2 separate regions of the Homo sapiens genome follow, and region 1 is linked to region 2. The links are contacts of gene promoters, found by promoter capture Hi-C in human tissues and cell types (Jung and others, 2019). All regions are on one chromosome and are shown on one strand. The core of a region is centred on a gene start or on the middle of the fragment in contact, and the rest is flanking DNA. Distances in the headings are between cores, read along the strand shown.

What was found. The method cuts DNA at HindIII sites, captures the fragments that hold promoters and counts their contacts. A contact is called where the count stands out against the background at its distance.
Region 1: a fragment that was not itself captured here is called in contact with the fragment with the promoter of GRIN2A in region 2 in 1 of the 25 tissues and cell types used here (dorsolateral prefrontal cortex).

The regions. Positions count from the first base shown.
Region 1 is chr16:9,101,490-9,108,406 of GRCh38, forward strand. It overlaps HAPSTR1 (HUWE1 associated protein modifying stress responses), which reads left to right. Exons shown (of 4, transcript NM_014117.3): 3 at 1,495-1,770. Among named protein-coding and RNA genes, the nearest start is that of HAPSTR1, 13 kb to the left of the region's middle. The HindIII fragment of the contact is 7,617 bases long and covers 1-5,524 here.
Region 2 is chr16:10,181,117-10,188,040 of GRCh38, forward strand. GRIN2A (glutamate ionotropic receptor NMDA type subunit 2A) reads right to left here and starts at 1,312. Exons shown (of 13, transcript NM_001134407.3): 1 at 761-1,312. RefSeq lists silencers at 400-509, 520-579. The HindIII fragment of the contact is 17,773 bases long and covers 1-6,747 here.

The DNA.
Region 1 (6,917 bases), core at 466-2,965, 1.1 Mb before region 2:
GAATTCTTGTCCTGGTCCTTTTCATTTTAAAGTATTTTTTCTTTCTTTTTAACATCCCAGGTCCTACTTTGATTATTTTTTTAAGAGAAAAGATCTGTGGACAATATCCTTGTTTTTCTTTGTCTTTAGCAATAAAGACTGTCATCTGCTTAAGAGTAGGCCTTATTATAAAGTTCTGGTTGTTGTGCTTCCCTCTTGCCATTTTCTTTAATAGTGCAAATTCAGCTTGGCATCCTCTGTGATGTCTGGATGATTTTTTTTTTTTTTTTCTGGAACATAGCTTTACATTGTTTGACTATTGCCCATCCTTTGAGAGTCTGCTGTAGATGTAGCAGACAAGAAATTAAAGCCGCCGGTTGCAGTGGCTCACGCCTGTAATCCCCAGCACTTTGGGAGGCTGAGGCAGGCGGATCACAAGGTCAGGAGTTGAAGACCAGCCTGACCAATATGGTGAAACCCGGTCTCTACTAAAAATAGAAAAATTAGCCAGGCATGGTGGCGTGCGCCTGTAATCCCAGCTACTCAGGAGGCTGAAGCAGGAGAACCCTGGAGGCGGAGGTTGCAGTGAGCTGAGATCGAGCCATCGCACTACAGCCTGGGCAACAGAGAGACTCCGTCTCAAAAAATAAAATAAAACGAAATAATCAAAGCCGGGAAAAGTAATAGAGAAATGTACACAGTATTGTTGCTTTTACGGAAAGTTCAAGGATAAAGTAACGATGTTGGTTAATGCCATTAAAGACATACTGGTGATGTTCTGCTGGCACAGCAGCTCAATTAAAACTAAATAATAGTCACTTAAATTTTCAAATTTTTTTTCAACTAAATGAAACCACTAAAAGGTAGAGATCATTTTACCAAAACCCAGGTGGAGTATATGCAGAGAATTTAGTCTAGGAGATCTGTTGGGAATGGTTGAGTTACAGGAAGCTGTTGAGAACTGGAAGCAAAATGAGTATACCCAGGGAAATGAATAAAGCTTTTTGTTTTCCACCATGCTATTTGGTTTTAGTGTTGAGCCATCAGTCAGAATTAATTTTTCCTTCTAAAACATTTGCTGCTGCCTTCAGCTTGTTCCTCATTCTTGGTGCTGAATCTGTCAGTAGGAATGTATCTCCACAATGACGTGGTAAATGCAGATGAGCGTGGCCTGAGGCATGTGCAATATTTAGACATCTGTTGAATGATGTGATGCAAGTTATTTTAGGTAATTTCATTAAAGATACCTAATCTCTCTGTTTCTGTTAAATTTTTTTTTTTAACAAGCCAAGCTCCAGGACTGTGATAAGTAAACACTGAATTTAGACCATTAAGATTAAATGTTACATATAACATTTTCATTATGACTGAAATCATTTCAGTTTATATTACTGATGGGCTCAGAGGCCACATCATGGTATTCACTTTGGTTAAATTGTAAAATGGTTTTCTTTAGAAGGGAATACGGGCTCTAATGGTCATGATACATGTTTTCTTTTTCTTTTTTTCTAACAGAAAGCGTGGATACCCATCAACGAAGTTTTGATATTGGAATTCAGATTGGCTATCAGCGACGCAATAAGGATGTGTTGGCTTGGGTTAAAAAACGCAGAAGAACTATTCGTCGAGAAGATTTGATCAGCTTCCTGTGTGGAAAAGTTCCTCCACCACGAAACTCTAGAGCTCCCCCAAGACTGACTGTAGTGTCCCCTAACCGAGCTACTTCAACGGAAACTAGCTCATCTGTAGAGACTGATTTGCAACCCTTCCGGGAAGCCATAGCTCTGCATGGTAAAGCCGTTTAAACATATTTCTTTGGAAAAATGGTTAAGAGGGTGCCTGTGGACCCATTTTTCACGGTTAGGTTTAGGTCCAGATATACTGTTTTTTGTCTTACAGTAAACAGCTTGCTCTAGAAATGTTTAATAGAATGTAAGCTAAGAACTTAATATGGGCGATTTCTGTCAGCTAACCTATCCTAGAAAATGTTTTTAGAAAGTTAGTTTGAGCTTATTGGTGTTAAAATGACATATCTTTCTGCAGTGTTGATTAGAATTTATCGCTTTACACTTATGTGTTGTACGTGTTTTTTTCCTCTTCTGAAGTCAAAGAGGAAGTTCTTGTGTCTTAAGAATTCTGTTATATTTCTAATGGTCCATGACAGGCAAGTAAGGTGGGAAATTGTTGGGTTAGTTCTCATGGGACCTGGGACCTCCCTTGACACCTTTCTTACTTGGTTTGCTGTAGATGGTGGGAGAGGATGGATGTAAGACTTGACCTTCTGCCTGTCGTCCCTCAGGTCCCTTGCACTTTAAGAGGCAGGACCAGCAGAGTGCAGCCAGTGGGCAGGTGGATCTCTATCTCCCCAGGCCAGACCTGTCATAAGAAGGCACTCTTGGCTAAGGGATTTTAGTATTGCTGGAGAAACCCGGGAAATGTAGTCAGTGATAAGTCTGTTGTTGCTTGTTGCTGTCTAATACAGACTTCCAAATAGAGCTGGGAGAGTTAACCTGTGTGACAGCATTGAATACTGCTGTAGGAAAAAAAGCAACAGAATAATAAGACTTGCTTGAAACCATGATGGAAAGATGGATCACGCAGATGGCTAAGCAGGTAGAAGTAATTAGGTCATGAATCCTTTTTTTCTTTTTTTTTTTTTTTTGGAGACGGAGTTTCGCTCTTGTGGCCCAGGCTGGAGTGCATTGGCGCGATATTGGCTCACCGCGACCTCTACCTCTGGGTTCAAGCGATTCTCCTGCCTCAGCCTCCCGAGTAGCTGGGATTACAGGCATGTGCCACCACGCCGGCTAATTTTTTAGAGACAGGGTTTCACCGTGTTGGTCAGGCTGGTCTCGAACTCCCAACCTCAGGTGATCCGCCCACCTTGGCCTCCCAAAGTGTTGGGATTACAGGTGTGAGCCACTGCGCCTGGCCATGAGTCTTGTTGAAAGTTAACATTTTTGGGCCATAGTACAGGTCATCTAAAACAAAGTAACCTGGTAAGGTACTAAGAAATAGTGGCATATAAAGAAACTTTATAGACGTTGAATCATTGAGACTTTATAATACCTGTAGAGATCTTGTTCTCTCTGGCAAACCGTAGTTCTTTCCTGAAACCCCAATGTTGTTTTTTCCCTTGATAGTGTTTAGGACAATTAAAAACAAAAACATGAATTGCAGGAAAGTTCAGGTTGTGTGGATGCAGTACTTTAAGACTGCACACTGTTCCTGACACAGTGGAATAGTTAGGCTGTCAGAACTTTGGAAGCTCAGGCAAAAATGGGATTGATCTGTTTATGCTGAATTAGAGAGTTTCACATCTTTCCCCCTAAAGTTTGGGAAAACAATTAACTAGAGGTGTACATAGTTTGTTAGATTAATTTTAGCGCATGGTAATATTTGATGCAGTTGTCTCTCCTTAAGTATTGTGATTTTCTTCCTTTATTAAGAGGGTTGTGGGTCATTCCATGCTTCTCTTAAGGTATCTTTTTACTCTGTTTTACTGTTATATTTTAGAAGATAGTTTTAAGAAACATAAAAACCATGCTTGTTATCTTAACGTAGTAGTAGTGTACATAATAGTAAAAAGGGCAAGCCAGCCCCCTCTGCCCTCGAAAAACTGTATTCTCCAACTCCCACTACATTTTCTCATATTGAATCTGTTCCACCTGTGATTTATTGTTTTCCTGAACTTTGGGAGTTTTAAGCAATGATACAGTTGAAGGGACTGTTTATAATTTTCACATGTTTAAGTTGTGAGGCTTTAAAACTTAAATATAAGGCTTTGTCTAGGAAGAAAATGATCTTTACCTTCAATAAATTTATAATGTAGCACTAATCCAGTATAGATTGGAGACTGAATGCATTCTTACTCTTAGGGTTCATACCTCTAATTCATGTGGTTAAGACAGTGTTGTGGTGAAGTAATAGGGCCCCTTGAAAGAATCTACAGAAACATAAATTATACTGAGTTGTGCTGTACTGGTTTGTGAGAACATCAGTGTATTAAGGAGAATGGTAGTTTAATTTGAATATTTAAAGAAAGTAATTTGAATGGTTCTAGTACTAGGGCCATTATTAACTAGTAACATAGATTAGTGACTTCAACTGGGTGTCCTTATTATCTGATTTGTCTGAAGTGAAAACTGTTAAGGTGCTCTTTTAAAATGTATTTGGAAACACCATAGTTAGGGTAAATACAATGTCACAATTCACTCTTGCATATTATTTGCTTAGCCAAATTTATGAATTCTAAGTTAGGCCAAATTGAAGGTTTTGGAGTTTTACATTGTGGGTGAGTCTAAATTCATGCGTTTGGCAAGCACAAGGACATGGGAAAAGAATCTGGTATTTTGAGGCAGGCTTGAGTTTATAATGAAAGCAAACTCAGTTCCTCTTCATGTCCTATGTATTTAAGAGAGGACAGTTTTCCCTCAGTTTTTTTCCCCTTCCTTACCCCTACCCCCATCAAATACAGCCCAACCAAATAACTGTGTTCTTAATTTAAAGGAAAATGGCAGACTTGACACCTGCTGAATATTTCGTGTAGACAGAGTATGACAATGAATGAGATCCCCAGTCATTGCCCTTGTAAGCCTGGGAACCCAGTTTAGTGGGAGAGACTAATGTAAACAGCTTTAATCAAAAGTATATCAATTGGCCGGGTGCTGTGGCTCACACCTATAATGCCGGCACTTTGGGAGGCCAAGGTGGGTGGATCACTTGAGGTCAGGAGTTTGAGACCACCCTGGCCAACATGGTGAAACCCTCTCCCTATTTAAAGAAAAAAAAGTAAGGCATATCAATTTATGGTTATCAAATAGGTTTTTTTTTTTTTTTTTGAGACTGAGTGTCGCTCTATAGCCCAGGCTGGAGTGTAGTGCTCACTGCGACTTCCGCCTCCTGGGTTCAAATGATTCTCGTGCCTCAGTCTCCCGAGTAGCTGGGATTGTAGGCGCCTGCCACCACGCCCAGCTAATTTTTGTATTTGTAGTAGAGATGGGGTTTCATCATGTTGGCGAAGCTGGTCTTGAACACCTGACCTCAAGTGATCTGCCTTAGCCTCACTGCTTGCCCCTAAGTGGTGGGATTGCAGGTGTGAGCCACTGTGCTGGCCTCAAATAGTTTTTATCAAAGCTACTTCAATTAGTGGTTAGCAAGGCTTAAAGACTAATTCAGTGCTTTATTTTGACACTTGTTCGCAACATGTTGCTTTTTTTCCTGTGTCCTATGGGACCTAGTCATCTGTATGTTAGATTCACAGAGGAATTAAAGAGATAAACATGCATGTGCTAAATTGATTTCTGTCTTGCTTTGTTATCCTATAATAATGTTATAAAATAACATTATTATAAATTTCCCAAGAGTTGAATTAATACCAACAACTGGTAACTCGTTTTTATGTAAACAGCATACTTGAGACCAGAAATCTTCTGGATCACTTTGTGGATCTCTGCCTGCCATTCTCATTGGTCCTCTGTTCATCCCTTTTCTAGAGCTTCTCCTTACCTTGGCTTCTCTTCTGCCACATTGGCCTGCCTGACCTGTCCTCAGGCCCTGTCACTGCCCTAGATTACGTTTCCCATGTCTTCACTTCCAAATCTGGACCTCTCGTTTAGACCTTCTCTCCTGACTGCCAGATGGCATGTCCCACTGTCCTCCGGTGTACATCTCCAAATTGTCCCACAGGCATTTATCTCAGATGAAGTTTCAGGTTGGACTCATTCTTCTGCCCCAACAGCAGAATGACTCATTGAGCCATTGAGCCATTCAGCACATTCTCTATATGGCAGATTCGGTGCTGTCTCTGGAAATACATAAACATAGAGCGATTCCTTTTTCTGTTGAGGCAAAATATGGATTTGGTTAATTTCTATTCACGTCATGAATGTGGTATGTGGAAGGTCTTCTGAGAGCAGAAAGGGATGTTTCACAGCACAGCCCGGCTGTGTGGTGCTCAGGGCAGGCCCTCTGGAGGAGGTGAGCCTGGGCTCTTGGCCTAATGTTTCAGCTCTCACTTTCCAGTCCTGAGCTGTTGTTGCCAGTCCATCTTTCATGAGACCATTGGAGTGATCTTTCTGGTCTTGTCACTTCATGGTTTAAAGTTTCCCTGGGCCTACACAGTGAAGTCCAAATTCAGCATGGTATTACAAGACCCTTATGATCCAGTCTTAACCATTGGTTAGGTATCCTACCCATACTGTTTATCTCTTGAATACCTCTATGCTCTTTGACAAGTCCAGCCCCTACGTGTTCATACCTCACTTCTGTGACACAGCCTTGCTTCAGGGCTCCCAATCTCTGTAGCCTCCCTGAACTGTGCATTTGCTCTGCTGCTTGATTTGTTTCTGTGACTGTTCCATTCTCCTCGGGACACATAGCAGGGACCTTGTCTTGGTCCTTTTTTTTTTGGCTTTAACAGAACATAGCAAAGAACCTGACATAGGTGTAGTCTGAGTTTACCACTGGGGTTATCACAGAGGTCTGCTAAGTGAATACAACACAGTGGGGACCCAGAACCTCTAGAAAGGGTTGAGGATTACAATCCCCAGATAGCTACAATCAGGGAATAATGTAACCTGTTTGCCTAGGGTGCTACATGGTAATCTTGAATTAGAACAACTGAGACTTCCATGGGACCTTAGGGTGATAACCATTAAACCTACTCTTTCAGTGTTTACTTTGTAAAAGCATCACACTAAGGAGGTTGTCATTTAATCCTCACACCTACCCTGGGTTATTAACACTGTTGATGAAGAAAGCCTTACTTGGCTAAGATATGGAGCAGGTTAGTAAGTGGTAGAATAGATACTCCAGTCCTGTCTCCAAAATGCAAATTTTTTTTTAATTAAAAAAATTTCTAATTTTCAATATATTTATTTTTGATTTTTTATTTTCTGTAGAGTTGGAGTTTCGCCATGTTGTCCAGGCTGGTCTCG
Region 2 (6,924 bases), core at 62-2,561:
GGGAACTTGGGGCTCGCCCCACCTCGAGCCAAGGGGCCGTGGAGAGTCCTTCACCCCTACACGCGCGCGTGCACACACACGTGCACACACACACGCACACACACATGTTCACACACACACACCCTCTCTCACGCGCGCCGTGTGCAATGCTGAATTCTGGAGAGTAGGCGCGTCCCCCCGCGGGCCAGCGCGTAGGAGCTGGCAAAGAACGTGCGTAGGGGGAAAGGTAGGCTCCCAAGAAGCTCCCAGACGGACGTGGACTGTACAGCCCCTCCCTAGCCTTTCTACTGCGGGCGCTGTTGCCAAGTCCTAGGTGCACGTGGGCAGTGGGCCGCACACGCTCATAGGCACGCGCGCTTTTCTGCGCACTTCCTCAGACTGCTGTAGCGGTGCCCACGGCCAGCCGGAGTCCTCACATGTCCTCAGGTGGTGCACACGCATGAACTGCGGCAGGTGCACAGCCCTGCGTACCTGCAAATACCAGCACGGTCGTGCACGCGTGCCCTGACGCGCGCCTCTCGGGACGGACGCTGCTGGAGCCGGGGGAAGTTGAGGCGAACTCCAAGAGGCCTCGACGTTCCTGGGTAAGCGCCGCGGAGCGCGGAGCCGCAGCGCCCCCTGGTGCCCCTCCTGCACTTCGCCGCTGGGCTCCCTCCCGCTTTCCCTCTCCCTCTCTAGCCTGATCCCTCTCCCGCTCTCCCTCCGGTCGAGTCTCCCTCCTCCCCGGCCCAAGGAGCCCTGATCTCCCTCTGGGACGTACCTGTAGCCCGAGAAGGTCGAGGATGCAGTGGGGCGCGCTGCGCGCACGAGCATCTCGGCCGCCTCAGCAGCCACCGGGTTTAGCGGGTTCCCGCATGCTGCGGCCCCAGCGCGCTCCCCTGGCTGTCCCGCGCTGTCCGCATCGCCCCCACGGGGGGCGGCTATCCCAGCCGGAGGCTCTGCAGCAGGGCTCTAACGGGGCGGAGGAGAGAAGGAGAGGCAGGGTCAGCCCACCAACGAGGGGAGGGAGGGTTGAGGGGAAGGCTGCAGTCTGCAGTGCTCACAAGCCCCCCTATGCGCCCAGGGGGGCTAGACAAGAGGGGGGAAGCTGAAGCCCGATGCCCACGACGCCCCCAGTGCGGATCCTCAGCCCCTGTGGCTGATAGCGGGAGCTCCACTCCAGGGTGCACAGGAGAATGGGAGCCCCAGGTTGGCCACCCACGAGAAGCTAACTGGGCACCTCCACCCGCACCCCCTACCACCTCCCCAGCGCCGGCTGCTGGGAGTTGTGCGACCGGGAGCTGCTGAGCGAGGGAGGTAGGGAGAGAAAGAGGAGGTAACGAGGGTGGGGGGGCGCTGGCTGAGTTTGTGACGAGCCAGCAGTAGGAGAGGGGGAGGGAAGGACGCGGGCTCCCGCGGTCCCGGTTCCCCGAGGGAGGTGGATCTTTCCCACGCAGCGACCCTCTTGTGATCCTGCCGCTTCCTCCCTCTTCAGGCCTCCCACCTCCCCCCTTCCCAAGGGGGCCTCCCAGGCCCGGCGTCCCGCGCTAGCACTCACCGCAGCCTCTCTCCACATAGTTCTCAGCAGTGGCCGCTCCTGGTCATCTCCAGGGCTGATGGCTGCGGCCGCGATTCTCAGCGCTCACCCGGTCCCATGATCCGGCCAAGCCCTAGGAGCTCCCCTCCAAGATCCCTAGCTCCGCTTCCTGCCCCACTCCGGACGGCAACTGCCCGGTCCTCTGAGCGCGCCGGAGCACCCTCTCCGCAACCCAGCTCCGGGCTGGTGTGTTTGAGGGCGAGTGTGTGTGTGAGTGTGGGAGCGCGCTCGCGTGTGGCCGGGGATCCCCGCGGTCCCCGGCCGAGAGAGGCGCGGGCGGGGAAAGGCAGCTCCCTCCGGGCCCTTCGCTGCTGGGCCAGCTCCGCGCCGGGCGTTCGGCTCCCCACTTCCCAGCGGGAGTCCGGTGAGCGCCTGGACACCCTGGTTCACAGCACTGGCAAAGCCGGGTTCCCGGGGCGTCTTTCTGCTGCGGTCGCCTCCGAGGAAGAGGAGAAGGAAGGTAGCGGCGCCCTCCACACCAACTTAGGGACTTGTTCTCAGCCGGCGAGACGCAGTAGCCCCCGCTCAAGCCCAAGAGGCTTCGAGCTCCGGCGGGCGAAAGCGTCTCCTGCCCGCAGCCTCTCTCCTAGGTGGGTCGAGACAGACCCCGCAGTCCCTCGGCGGCGACGCGGAGCGCGGCCACCCGTTCCGAGAGCGCACGGCGGCAAATAAGGCCAGGATAGGTGGCTGGCTGGCGACGGGGGCGCCTGCGGCGGCGCGCGCTGCTGTCCGTGGTGTTGGAACCACGCTCTCCGCCCGCTCCCGGGCGTCTGGTGCGGCTGAAGAATCAATTATTCAGATCTCTGCTACCGCTTCCTCCTCCCCCAGTGCCTCGCGCTGGGTACAGTTATCCCCCTCCACGCACAGGCGCGCCGACACACACACACACACACACACACACACACACACACACACAGAGTCTGCTCCAATGCTTCTCCCTGTGCCTCGCCACCCCCGTACGGGAACCCACTCCTCTGATCTCAGGGAGCCAGAATCCTAAAAGCAAAGACATCTGCATTTCCCACATGCTTCCTTCTAAGTTCTACCAAACAGAAGCCTCCCTGAGGCTGCCACTTCTAAGCTACCAGAAGAGGTGAGCCAGAGAACATGGGACGGCCCGGGTGTGTGAGGGCTTGGTTGACTTGAATTCTAGCGACTGGGCATGAAATACATGGTCAAGGGAGGAGCTCTGCCCCTTTTATATTCACCTGTATCTCCAACGCCTGTCTGCCTTTCAGGCCTTGGAAGGAAAGGGGTCTTAAATTCTAAGAGGTTTTGCAATGACTGTTCCAACCCTGCCTCCTCCACTTAACCTAATGTCACCTGCTGCGGTCTAAATGTGTGTGTTCCCACCCCCAAATTCATAGGATAAAATCCTAACTCCCAAGGTGATGGTATTAGGAGGTGGGGACTTTAGGAGGTGACTTCATGGCTTCATGAGAGTAAAATGGGATTTGTGGTCTTATAAAAGAGATGCCAGAGAGTCAGCTAGGTCCTTCCACCAAGTGAGACTTAATCAAGAAGGCATCGGCCTATGAACAGGAACTAGGCCCTCCCCAAATACTGAGTCTGCTGCTGCTTCATCTTGGACCTCCCAGCCTCAAGAAGTGAGAGAAATAAACTTCTGCTGTTGATGATGTTTTGCTATGGCACCTGGATCAAACTAAAATATCACTTTTGGACATTATATTACTTCCCTTTATTGATCACTAATCTGGAAATGGGGGGCAGTAAAAACATCTACTTCTCAGGATTATTTTGAAAAGAAAAGGAAGTAGCCTTAATAAAGGGGTCAACAAGGTCTGGCACATAGTAGATGCTCAATCAACATCATGCACCTTGAAGTAGCCTGGAAGCAGGGGAACTTCTTCCAAGAATGTGGATGTGGCTGCTGAAATGGAGACAGGAGAGGGGCACAGTGTGTGGAGACAAATGGATTCATTATTGAGCTGGTTGTTCTATGCTGGGTTTCCTGGGTTTTTGTTTTTGTTTTTTTTTTAATCCAAAAGACAGAGAAAGCGTGAGGGAAATGCTGGAAAGTAAATTAAAATGGGGGATTGTATAATATAAGGCAGGGAACAGGAAAATGTTTCCTTTCTTGAGTCTATGGCTGGGCTGAACTGATTAGGCCACTCCTTGGCACCCATGCAAGACTCTGGCTTGGGGTCTAAAGGGGAAGTTAGGCCATTTTATTTAAATGAGTTATAAATTATAGACAATAAAATGCATATCTCTCAAGGGTTTCATTTGTGAAGGTTTTTTGGTGTTTTTTTATTTTTTTGTTTGTTTGTTTTGTTTTGTTTTGTTTTTTTGACAGGGTCTCACTCTTGCCCTGGCTGGAGTGCAGTGGTGTGGTCGTAGCTCACTATTAACTTGAACTCCTAGGCTCAAGTGATCCTTCTGCCTCAGCTTCCCAAGTAGTTAGGACTTGTGGTGGTTAGCACATGCCACCACATCTGGCAAATTTTTTATTTTTTGTAGCCATTGGGTGTTGCTATGTTGTCCATGCTGGTCTCAAACTCTTGTCTTTACGAAATCCTCTGGCCTTGGCCTCCCAAAGGCTGAAATTACAGGTGTGAGCCACTGCACCCAGCCAGTTTGTTACTTTTGAGATTGTGTGTATCCACATAGACCGTCACGTAAAATGAGGTACAGAGTATTTTCATCACCACCAGGAAGTTTTCTTGTGTCCCTTTGTTGTCAATCCCACTCCCCCCATTCAGTGTAAACTACAATTTTGATTTCTAATACCATGTATTAGTTTTGCCCTTTTCTGAACTTCATATAAGTGGAATTTTACACTATGTATTCTTTGGTGACTGGCTTTTTTCACTTACCCTGATGTCTAGAAGATTCCTCTGTGTTGTTGCATGTATCAACAGCTTTTTTATTTTTTATTGTTGAGCAGCTAGCTCTCTATTGCATGGATAAGCCACACTTTGTGTATCCAGTCTCCTGCAATGGATATGTGGGTTTTATCTATGGGACTTTTTAAAATACAGATGTGGCTGGGTGCAGTGGCTCACGCCTGTACTCCCAGAACTTTGGGAGGCTAAGGCAGGAGGATCACTTGAGCCCAGGAGTTTGAAACCAGCCTGGGCAACATGATGAGAGCCCAGGAATTTGAAACCAGCCGGGGCAACATGATGACAACCCAAGTGTTCACACTGCTGCACTCCAGCCTGAGTGACAGAGTGAGACTTTGTCCCAAAAAAAATAAATAAAGAAAATAAAACACAGATGCCTATGCCCACTCTAGATCTACTCCATCAGGATCTCCAGGTGTGGGGCCAAGCACGGACAGTTATTTTAGATCCATAGGGGATTCTGATGATGCCTCTGCACTTGCTATTCTCATAAATTGATGCTGACCCTGAAATTGGATTTGTCTTTCTTGAAAAATACTGGTATTCAGGGTTTTAAGTTATTCATGATCAGACTTATAGAAAGATAAATCAAACTGATACGGCCTCTTTTGAATAGAGAAAGAAGGCAGCCCTTCATTGGAAGGGACACTGTGCCTCTAAACATAGGCACAGGAGGCTGGAGTTGCACTGGGGTGGACATGTCACCAGGGTGGAGCACATCGTGTGTCAGGCACCTGGAACTTCACCATACATGCAGAGACTGTGACAGCGTGTATAAGATCATGACAGCCTTACTCCATCTATGCTGCCAAGCTTAATTCTCAATGCAGCTTAGGATGCTAAGCAGAATTTTGCTGCTCAAAGAGTTTCAGATGATAAGAAAAACTTCTTCATAGCAGCTATATCAACTGTGATGGTTAATACTGAGTATCAACTTGATTGGATTGAAGGATGCAAAGTATTGTTCCTGGGTGTGTCTGTGAGGGCGTTGCCAAAGGAGATTAACATTCGAGTCAGTGGACTGGCAGACCCACCCTCAATCTGGGTAGGCACCGTCTAATCAGCTGCCAGCACAGCCAGAATAAAAGCAGGCAGAATATGGAAAGACTAGACTGGTTCAGTTTTCTGGCCTCCATCTTTCCCCTGGGGCTGAATGCTTCCTGCCCTGGAACATCGGACTCCAAGTTCTTCAGCTTTGGGACTCGGACTGGCTTCCTTGCTTCTCAGCTTGAAGTCTATTGTGAAACCTCACCTTGTGATCATGTGAGTCAATATTCCTTAATAAACTCCCCTTTAGTCTGGGCACGGTGGCTCATGCCTGTAATCCCAGCACTTTGGGAGGCCGAGACGGGTGGATCACCTGAGGTCAGGAGTTCAAGACCAGCCTGACCAACATGGTGAAACCCCAGCTCTATTAAATACAAAAAATTAGCCAGGCATGGTGGTGTACACCTGTAATCCCAGCTACTTGGGAGGCTGTGGCAGGAAAATCACTTGAACCTGGGAGGCGGAGGTTGCAGTGAGCTGAGATTGTTCCACTGCACTCCAGCCTAGGCAACAAGAGCAAAACTCCGTCTCAAAAAAAATAAAAAATAAAATAAAATAAAATAAACTCCCCTTTATATATACATCTATCCTATTAGTTCTGTCCCTCTAGAGAACCCTGGCTAACAGAACCGACAAAGACTTCTCTAAGTGAAAGAACAAGGAGCAGCTCTTCCACATACCTGGGCCGGCCACACCGCTGCACCCCAAGAGGAAGCACATTGGGTGCCCCTTCTCACACTCACCATAGGAGGGCAGCTTCCATGTCCAGAGGAAGCCAGGCGTCTCCTGTAGGAAATGTCTTTCTTGTAGGCTCACTCACCATTGCACAGGGAAGCTGGCTCCAACTTAATCTCTGTCACTCAGCTGTGACTGGTCAGAGCAGTCCCTCAAGACAGTGCTTTGATGGCCCTGAAGTCAGACCATGTCAGGCCAACTTCCCAAGGCCAGGAGTGCCCAAAAGTCTCATCATTCACTCCACAGATACTCTGTCAGAGTCTGTGCCTATGGGAAAAGCGTCTCAGGGAAATGTCTGGATGCTAAGGAGAGAGGTCATGTTTCCTGGTACCTGGGATCATTGAGGCATGCCATCTTGAAACTGTGGAGGCCCTTGGCGATGATCAAACCAACCCCCAATGCTGCTTTTTTTTTTTTTTTTCCTAATGAGGACTATGGCCAGGCACGGTGGATGACGCCTGTAATCCCAGCACTTTGGGAGTCTGAGGCAGGCGAATCACTTGAGGCCAGGAGTTCAAGACCAGCCTGGCCAACATGGTGAAACCCCGTCTCTACTAAAAATACAAAAATTAGCCAGGCATGGTGGCATGTGCCTGTAGTCCCAGCTACTCAGGAGGTTGAGGCAGGAGAATCGCTTGAACCTGGGAGATGGAGATTGCAGTGAATTGAGATCGCACCACTGCACTCCAGCCTGGGCGA